Regions from separate parts of the Homo sapiens genome. Here all the other regions are linked to region 3. The links are contacts of gene promoters, found by promoter capture Hi-C in human tissues and cell types (Jung and others, 2019). All regions are on one chromosome and are shown on one strand. Each heading gives the region's core, a stretch centred on a gene start or on the middle of the fragment in contact. The rest is flanking DNA. Distances are from core to core; before and after follow the strand shown.

Region 1 (3,298 bases), core at 60-2,559, 260 kb before region 3:
GGGATTTTTCTTTCCCCCCGATAATTCATGTGGTTCAGAGCTATGAATGCTTTTGTGAGCCTCTGGGAACTCAGGGTGATAAAAATCAAAAGGTCTTTTTATGAGCAACAATATTGATGAATATAAGAACGTATATTAATTTCTCATGCTCCAGTGACAACGACTGAATTTAAGAGGAGAGAAATGTGTTCATTAGGGAGAGTGCCCATATAAAGACACAAATGTAATTCTTGCAGATAATTAGCTGCCCTATTTAAATCTAATATTTAACTCCCTGGTTGTCACATGTTCATTGGGAATTAAATTCCCACTTGATTTACTTCTCACTCTAACCAGAGCAAGGCAAGTATTTAACGTTGGTTTTTTTTGTTTTTTTTTTTTTTGCATTTTATTACATACCTTCTTTCTTTTCGCAGTCCAAGCAGGAGAAAAATTTGGTGGAAAATAAGTTTTTAAGGCCAAAGCCACAATTTCATTATTTCCAAAACTAAAATTGATTAAAGCAGTTTTTCCACGTTGACCTTGAAAGCAGGAGAGCTGCATCTTTTCTTTAGGAAATGGGCTACTATATTTGCATTTATCTGCTTTGTTATGTTTTGGGGCACCGATAATCTGAGCAGTGTCCTTTTGCCAATGTATTCTCTCTAAATGGAATAAATTTCTCTCTCTCTCTCTCTCTCTCTTTTTTTTTTTGAGACAGAGTCTCGCTCTGTCGCCCAGGCTGGAGTGCAGTGGAACAATCTCGGCTCACTGCAACCTCCGCCTCCCAGGTTCAAGCAATTCTTCTGCCTCAGCCTCCTGAGTAGCTGAGACTACAGGTGTGTGCCACCACACCTGGCTAATGTTTTTGTATTTTTAGTAGAGATGGGGTTTCACCATATTGGCCAGGCTGATCTTAAACTCCTGACCTCGTGATCCACCCACCTTGGCCTCCCAAAGTGCTGGGATTACAGGTGTGAGCCACCGTGCCTGGCCAAATTTCTCTTTTTTAAGACTGAGCTACTTAGGGGCACAGGAATTTTGTATTTGTATTCCTGACAGGGCCTCACAGTGCTGTGCATACAATTGGTGATTTATAAATATCTGTGAAAAAATATGTTTAATAATGATAACCACAGACAAGTACTACTTGACTATGTTATTTGAGTTAATTGAGGTCAACTCTTCTAAGCCTGTAGGTGATAAAATAGCTCTATTCTCTGGGATGGCAGCAGTGGGAAGAACATCTAATCTGAAGCTTTCCTGTCATTGAGCTAAGAACGTCTTCCCATTCTCCTTTAAGAAGGCATCAAAACTCATCCCAACTTGCCCATTTTCCATTTCCCTACAACACCACAGGAAGTCTCTAGTTATCCAGACACTATCCTCCCAATGTGGATCGCTTATGCCCCTTCAGCTCCCCTGGACACCCCTCCACGGTGTACTCTGAGCTCACTGCCTGTGACTCCACAAGCTCCTTATTTCCTCAACTCTCCTTAAACATCCCTTTACCTCCCTGATTTAAATAAAACCTCGGCAATGCACCAAGGATGCCCAAGCCTCTCAATTGGACGCCATCTCTATCCCTCATCCCCTGGTACTTCAGGGCTTACACACCTGATTTCTGATCCTTTACTCCCTCTCCCTCGTGCTAGAGCCCCAGCTGTCTTGAAGCTTCTATCTTAGGGAGCCATTACCCTGCACCACCTCTGCTGACATCTCGGTTGCTCCTCTCACCCACTGAGCTCTGGGCCCACATTTTCCCTCTCCACCCTACCAGTGCCTTCCTTCTCAGGGGCCGAGCTCAGAAAGGCTCAGTAACCTGCCTAAGCTGTAACAACACTGGGCTGCCATTTCTCCTCCAGCTTTCAGCAGTGGAGCTAAGAGGCCAGACATCCAAAGGTTTAGTTTGGCTGATTGTGTGACATTAGGCTAACTTTTCCTGAGAGTAAGACTTTTGTAATGAAGGAAGCAATGCCCTGATTCACATTCTGGACAAACTCCTATCTCATTGTGGTCTAAGACTTTGAATATCAGTATCTTGAAGGGCTCTGTGGACATTTTTGATTCACTTTACACAAAATATCCTGAGTGAAGCATGCCTAAGGATTCCATGATAAATAAGCTATCACATAAGCATGCAAAATTCTCACATGCTTCCTTTCTCTGTGATCAGCCAATCTGCTGCTCTTAACTTTGGAGACTTGAGCAAATCACCTTAAACCCAACATAAGCAACTGTAATAAGAAATAAATAAGAGGCTGGGTGTGGTGGCTCACACCTGTAATCCCAGCACTTTGGGAGGCCGAGGTGGGCTGATCACTTGAGGTCAGGAGTTTGAGACCAGCCTGGCCAACGTGGTGAAACCCTGTCTCTATTAAAACTACAAAAATTAAACGGACATGGTGGCATGCACCTGTAATCCCAGCTACCCGGGAGACTGAGGCAGGAGAATTGTTTGAATCCGGGAGGCAGAGGTTGCAGTGAGCAGGGATCGTGCCACTGCACTCCAGCCTGGGCAACAGAATGAGACTCTCTCAAATTTAAAAAAAAAAAAAGGAACCAAACTCTACCATGAATGACTTCCTAGATTTGAAGGAAAACTCAAAACAATCACTTAATTTAAAAAAAAGAGTTTTATAGAAAAATTTCTGTGTAAAATTCACCCTGCCAAAGGAAAAGGAGGAATCAAATAAGAGCTATAGGAAATACACCACCAAACTCGTGTGATCTGCACCCTGTCTGGGCAACCCTGTCACTGATGGAATTTTTCAGAATGGAAATGTGGTGCCCTTGGTCATTTGTCCCATGAGTGCCAGAAGTGAACTGACTTCCAGCTCTGTGTTCGTATCACATTAGAGTCCTGAAAAATGCATTGTGTCGCAATGTGTCTTCAGCAGCTGACATAGATGCTTGTAGTTTCAGATTGCTTAAATCAAATTCTGGTATAGATTCCTCCCAGAAGTACATATTCCATATATACACACAGGCAATAGATAAAGTATTACTCTATGTCTATACCCATTGCTATGAAATCTAAAACTAATAAAAAATAAATATAACTTTATTCATTTAAGGTCTCAGGAAATGTGCCTTTCCCATTTCCTCAATAATGGGGTTTCATAGATACTCTTGGCCCAGTGGACTTATTCCACTAAACATATGGACTTTCAACAGAGACATTTATTCAGTATCTAATATATGACAAGGATAAAGCAACCTGCAGTTAAAAAGAGAGAGATCTTAAAGTTTTCAGGAGAAAGATTAAAACTAATATACTCTAAAAGATAATGGCCTGTACTGGGAGTTCCCGAAATTC
Region 2 (3,475 bases), core at 465-2,964, 330 kb before region 3:
TAGCTACAATTATTATTTGTATTATGTTGCTTGTCTTTTCTGTGTCCCTCCACTAGAACAAGCTTTCATGGTCTTGTTTGCTGCTGTAGCTCTAGTACTCAGTATAGTGCTGAGCAGCGGTATAAACAGTTGTTGAAATAGATGAAGGAGTGAAATTTTCACCCTCCACACTTTTTCTCCTCCCATTTGTTTTTGTCTCACTTTAATTATGACTGCTTCCTCCATGCTGGCCTCCAGGAATGCACTGCATCCCTTTTTAATGATCTCACAAATGAAGCTTTTCATGTTTCACCTTAGCACAGCTCAAGGTGAGCTGAATGGCTTTGCTAAACTCTAAAGGAAAACCATAGGACAATAAACACTAAGGACACAATAAAGAGAAATATTGTGTTGCACAGAGTCCAGCCTTCTAGTAGGCTCTCTCGGGGCTGATTCACCAAGCTCACTCAGCTCCGTCCCCCAACTGTTTCTCCAACTCAGCAGGCCACCTACTGGAGCCCCTCACCTCCTAGCCTGGCCTGACCTGGCCTGATGTTGGGGGCACCATTTGTAGACAACCCTATCCACCCCCAGAAATGCATTCCTAGACATCTTGAGACCTTCATGGTCAAGACATGGTGAGATTCTTCTCTGTTCCTGCTGTCCCTGCCCTACTTGCAGAATGACCATCCTCTTTGCTTCAGGGGTCAGACTTTACCTTTCCATATCCATGTAACCAAACTTGAATAAAACATAATACTGCAACCATCGAATAACAAGAAGTATATATGCTGATGGCTAGTTCTTTACAGTGTGTATTTAGTAAACCTTTCAGAAGATGAGAGTGTTTATTTTTGAGGAATTTGTGAAAGGCTTTTATCCATTTGCTGAACACTTGAACGGTCACTTCATCACCTCTCTAAATTAAATCACTGAAGTTGCACCATTATTTGAAAGTGGAAAAAGTGGTTACCCCTGGAGTGAAAAAATTAGGTTCAGCAGAAGAGGAACCCAAACTGAGCATTATAAAGTAAAATGCCGCCAAGAGACACCCACAGCACCTGGGAAGCTTCTGCATCCACGCATGTGAGCTCACACCAGATGCAAACCTCGAGCCTTCATGGGCCAGGCATTTCATGATCTTCACTAATGAAAACTCAGTCAGTTAGAACTGGCCTCATTCTGATAGTCATCCTCTTGGGGTCTTCAGAAATTGTCAACAGGCTTGCTTTGCATTTCTATCACCCAGGGCAGTAGGGGGTAAGCTTGTGCTTAACTGGAGGGAAGCAGGCAAAGGTGTGGCTAAAAACCACCTTCCAAGTAATGAGGCAGTACTGCAAGGGGAATAGTGCCTGACTACCAGTAACCAAGGTAAGGTCAAGAACAGGCAGGGGTGAGTATTAGCAGGGAGATTTCCTGTTTGCTGCAATCAGATTTTCTGTCATGAATGGCCATTAGGTCATTAACTGTTTGAATATTCAGATGAGGACAGCTGTGAAGTCCCCTTCCCCGCATACCTCTGATGCTCCATAATAGGATACTAGGGGGGCGTTTTCAATTGTCCCCTCCCTGCCCTATTCAGAAATTCTGGCCTTCAGGTGAGGAAAAAGGAGTTGTGTTTACTACCTGTTCTAGAGAAGGCTCTGTGTCAGTCAGGGGCCAGCGCAGCATCTCACAGCTGGATCCAACTTCTGCCCCAATTATGGCACGGGCCCTATAATGGCCCACTACCTTAGATCCTTCTCCTCTCTCAGTCTGTGTGGGGAAAGAACTGGGAGCAGGAGTGAGCAAGAGATATGGAGCCATTGGTCTTTTGATAGAATGTTCCAGAAGACAGGTAATTAACTCTCATCCTTTCTCCCTCTCTCTGCTACCCCATCCCCAACCTGAAACCAAATAAGGGCTTCAAGAGAATTCCTCATAAAGATTGGGGATGCTGTAAGAAGGGGTGCTGGGACCTCATTGTGCATTTGAGCTTCTGTTTAGACAACAGGCTTGTGTGTACTGCAAAGGAAGCACAAAGGGACGGACAAAGATGGTGGAGCTGAGAGGACCAGTGGCAGAGATCGCTTGCCCATCATCTGAAAAGGCAAAGACATGTGAGTCTTTCAAGAATAAGTGGGCACTGTGGAAAATGTCTACTTTTAGCCTTTTTGTCTGTACTCTGGCTGCCCAAGGGTGACCCATGGAGAAATAGTGACAACAGAAAAGAGAATGACAACTGAGAAGTAACCAGATGTATATTCTCCATCCTCAGTCCCTCCTCCAGGCCCTAACCAAACAGGAAGAACTAGCACCAGAAGAGGGAGAGGGGAGAATTCCAGGCTGTGACACCAGATGGGGAAGCTTTGAATCTGATGTAAGAATAAAGTTTTAAACTAGACTCAATTGTTTCATAACTAAAAGTGAACTGAAAGTCTTGGAATCTACCTGAGATGCGATTAAGTGGTGACCATACTGGCCCCCAAAATGCTGTAATGTGTACCACTACACACCTATCACGCCTATTAGAATGGCTAAAATCCAGAACACTGACAACATCAAATGTTGATGAGGATGTGGAGCAACAGGAACTCTCATTTATTACTGGTTGGAATGCAAAATGATACAGCCATTTTGGAAGACAATTTGGCAGTGTCTTACAAAGCTAAACATTCTCTTACCATATGACCCAGTAGTCATGCTCCATGGTATTTACCCAAAAGGAATTGAAAACTTATGTCCACAGAAACCTGCACATGAATGTCTACACCCGCTTTATTCATAATTGCCAAAATTCGGAAGCAGCTAAGATGTCCTTCAGTAGGCGAATGGATAAACTGCAGTACATCTATACAATATAATATTATTTAGAACTAAAAAGATATGAGTTATTAAGCCATGAAAAGACATGGAGGTACTTTAAATGCCTATTATTAAGTAAAAAGAAGCCAACCTGAAAAGGCTACATAATGTCATATAGTTGGAATCAAGTATGATTCCAATTGCATGACATTCTGGAAAAGCCAGAACGACGGAGACAGTAAAAAAAGATCAGTGGTTTCCAGTGGCTAGGGGATAGGGAAGGATGAATAGGAGACACACGGAGGATTTTTAGGGCAGTGAAACTATTCTGTGTAATACTACAATGCTGGATACATGTCATTATACGTTTGTCAAAACCCATAGAAAGCACATCAAGAGTGAACCTTAATGTAAGCTATGGACTCTGGGTGATAATGATGTGTCAGTGCAGGTTCACTGACTGTAACAAATGCACCGCTCTGGTGCAGGATGTTAACAGTGGGGGAGGCTGTACATGTGAGGGGCAGGGGGTATATGTGAACTCCACTTTCTGTTCCACTTTGCTATAAACCTAAAATTGCTCTGAAACTGTTTTTAAGATGTGCTGCAATGAGGACGTGGGATGTGACCCGAGGCTGTGTCTCGGGTTCCTCTCTTAGAATGCAAGACAGCTTCCATTCGTGCCATTTAAAAATTCAGGAAGGGAGGTAGC
Region 3 (3,212 bases), core at 501-3,000:
AATCCGATATATAAAATGAAAAGGGAAATTGGTTAACTTAAATCTCAAAAAAGATGTTAAGGGAGAGACTGTCACTTCCCTCAACAGATTTGGGAAAGTTAATTATTTTAACCTCTTTTCTAGTGAATATTAATGGAACTTCTAACACAACATACACACAGCACTTTATGAAACAAAAATGCCCAAAACTAAGTTAGTGCATACTGAAAGCCTAAAGCACACCCAGCAGAGCTTTGAAATATAAAAAGCATAGTGAGTTCCTTCCCACGAGGAATAAATATATAATCGGCATATGTATATCTATATTTGAAACTTATTCTAAAGTGTCACACTTCTCCCTGCACTAGCAGTCCCAAGCCAGTGAAACAGCAGGTAACTGACAGATGACCCTGTCCTGCATCCCTTGTCTTTGACTTCTCCCCACTCTTGGGACAGCATTCACTTCCAGGACCTACCCACCTGGCCAGCTCGGGCCCTAGGGGCAAGGAGAAAAAGGAGGAAAAGCTCCAGGAACTCACATTTCGGTGATGTTCTCAGGATCTACACTGTTAGGCTCCAATCTCGGAAATGCCACGATGCCAGGAGAAGGGTCGCTGCACCAGATCCGAGAGGCACTGCATTTGCAGGACGTGGGACAGGCGAAAGCGGCCCTCCAGAAGCCCACAACCAGCCAGCAGAAGCCCCAGAGCCGCGCCATGGCGGGTCCATGCCACCTTATCCAGGACGACATCCCTAGCAGCCAGTGCCAGCCCGAGTGCCTGTCCCCGCGCTGCACCGGCCGCTTTCCCCCACCCGTGCGGGGAGGCCTTCCCTGCGCTTGCGGCTCTCTTAACTCCTCGGTGCTTGTTGCGGGCGTGCCGAGTCCAGCTTATCAGAGGCTGAGCTGGTCCGGAGCGAAGAGTGTTCCGGCAGGCGGCAGGGTTCACAGTGGCCCCGGCATAGCGAACCGCTTTACAGGGGGGCGCTACCGCTGCTCGGAGCTCCGCGGCGGCCGTCGCTGCATGGCCCGGCGCGCCGGGCACCGACCGGCGGCGCTCCCGGGACTCTCTGGGGCGCAGATTCCTTGTTAGATGCGAATGGGGGTCCGGTATGCACCTCGAGGCTGAGGACAAACAGACACGCGTAAGACTGAGCGTAGGACCCCCAACACCACTAATTGGGGCACTCTCCCTCTCTGCTCGCGTCATCCCCACCCCGACCCCAGCCCGGAGACTGTGGATGGATGAGTGCCCAGCTCCGGCCCAGGAATCAACTTGCCCCGCGATGGCACTGACGCCGCTGGAGCCACCAGTGTGCCCACTCTCTCTTCGAGCCTGAGGCCAAGGGAGGGGAGGTAGGGAAAGGGTCCCCAAGACAGGATTCCATGGTACAGGCCGGGCGAAGGACCCTTTAAAGGGGAATGCGGAGACTGCCGGCGGCTTTGGCTCCGCGACGGGGCCCCCGAATGATGCTGCAGAATCCGCCACGGCCGCTGGGTGCCGGTGGCGCGGGCAGGTGGCGCGGCACGTCCCACCTGGGGAGTAGCCGAGGCCGCCCCAGGGGGAGACAGTGAGGGCCGAGGCGACCGAGGGCACTATCTGCGCTGCTCACCCGGGCTCCGGCGCCTCACGCCCGCCGGCGGCGCCTGGGTCCAGGCTCCTGCTACCGCCGGGGACTGAGCGCGTAGAGCGCGAGCGAAGCAGCCAGCGAGGCTCCTGCTCCAACCCAATTCCGGGAGCCGCCGCCGCCGCCTCTGCTACTGCTGGCGAAGTGACGTGAGGGCTGACGCAGAGCAGGGGCAGAAACTCCAGAAAATTAGTCTGAAATCCAAAAACACACACACGCTCATACACACACAAACCCATAACACCCTCCAGACAAAAGCACCAGGGAGGGGAGGGGAATCTGGGGGCGAGCAGGGAGGAGGGAGGCATCGGTGCCACTGGCCAGAAGCAGACAGCAGCAGCATGTGGGAGTTCACACACGCGCGCACACACGCACACATCCTGGCCGTGTAGACATGCACGCGCGTGCGTGTGTGTGTCTGTGTGTGTGTGTGCATTTACATCCAGGTACCTCTAAGATGAACCGTTCCTCCGTTCGACGCCTCCCGGTCCCTAATTCACACCACAGTCTCTTCTACAATCGCGGTAGAGGCTGTCTCCCTTTTTGAAATGGAAACCGTGCTTGGTTCAGCTCTGAAAAATGCGCTGATTCTTATTATAGGAATCCTCCCTCCCTTCTCCCTCCCCGCGTTCTCCTTTCCCACCCTGCCTAAAAGGGAGGGCAAGCTATCCTAAAAATAAATAAATGTTGTAAACACCAAAACGTGTTCTGCATTGGTAACCAAGGATCACCGCCCCCATTCCGGGCCACCTATTTGGGGATCGGTGGTTTTGGAGGGGCTTCCTGTTGGTGCTTTTGCAGAGGGAAGGGAGTCTCCAAACACAATTCTAGCTCTCTAAGTGGGTCTTTTTCCTGCCGTTTTCTGCCATCACACGCCCGGGAAATAGAGACATGTGAGGGGAAGGGAGCGCGCCTGATGCGTATTCTAAATGCTCGGTGGCCACCCTGGCCTGTCCGATGTGTGGCGCCGCGTCATTTTCTCTCATCCTTTAACCTGACGGGATGTAGCCATTCCCAGATCGTGGATTCACTCCCCGCGATGCCCACCCCCACGTAGGGCATCCCAAGCCCTTGCTCCCCTGCCGTACCTTGCGCGTGTTCATGTGTGCTAGGGTGTGCGCGAACGCGTGCCCTGCGCCCGCGCTGCCCGGAGCACGATATGCATCCAGCTACGAAGAAGCCAGGCGCGGGCAGAGCCTCGGGGTCTCACTAGGGACAAATTAGGCGATCCGGGAGGGTCGGGTGACAAACCGTAACTATTCTGCGGGTGCAGTTAAATGATGGCTGCGGGGCATTTGCAAGCCTTGTCTGAGAATCCGTCTTCCCTTTTGCGGCTCGGAATCTGTTTTTCCGCAGTCATTTAAAAGAGAACGGGGAAAATACACCGCAGTGCCTGACACTTCCGAGGGCTCTGGTGCCCCCGCGCGGGGAGAGAGCGCCCGGCACGCTCCGGAGCACCAGCCCATGGCCCGGGTCGCGGCGGGCACAGCGCTGGGGGCGCGCTCTGGCGCCAGATGCGCAACCAGCGGCGCCCGACGCCTGCGCGTCCCTGCCCGGCCGGTGCGCGGCTCTCCTGGCCTCGCCGAGCTCCTGCCCGGGGGAAAAAG

The links. Contacts are between HindIII fragments. The study calls those that stand out against the background at their distance.
Region 1: a contact is called between a fragment that was not itself captured here and the fragment with the promoter of NTRK2 in region 3, in 1 of the 25 tissues and cell types used here (dorsolateral prefrontal cortex).
Region 2: a contact is called between a fragment that was not itself captured here and the fragment with the promoter of NTRK2 in region 3, in 1 of the 25 tissues and cell types used here (dorsolateral prefrontal cortex).

What each region holds. Positions count from the first base shown.
Region 1 is chr9:84,928,802-84,932,099 of GRCh38, reverse strand. The region is part of intron 14 of NTRK2 (neurotrophic receptor tyrosine kinase 2); the gene reads right to left. Among named protein-coding and RNA genes, the nearest start is that of NTRK2, 260 kb to the right of the region's middle. The HindIII fragment of the contact is 3,950 bases long and covers 1-3,284 here.
Region 2 is chr9:84,999,970-85,003,444 of GRCh38, reverse strand. All of the region lies in intron 17 of NTRK2 (neurotrophic receptor tyrosine kinase 2), which reads right to left. Among named protein-coding and RNA genes, the nearest start is that of NTRK2, 330 kb to the right of the region's middle. The HindIII fragment of the contact is 3,088 bases long and covers 171-3,258 here.
Region 3 is chr9:84,668,267-84,671,478 of GRCh38, reverse strand. NTRK2 (neurotrophic receptor tyrosine kinase 2) reads right to left here and starts at 1,750. Exons shown (of 19, transcript NM_006180.6): 1 at 1,591-1,750; 2 at 519-1,102. The coding sequence starts at 730. RefSeq lists a silencer at 3,006-3,212. The HindIII fragment of the contact is 14,152 bases long and covers 1-3,212 here.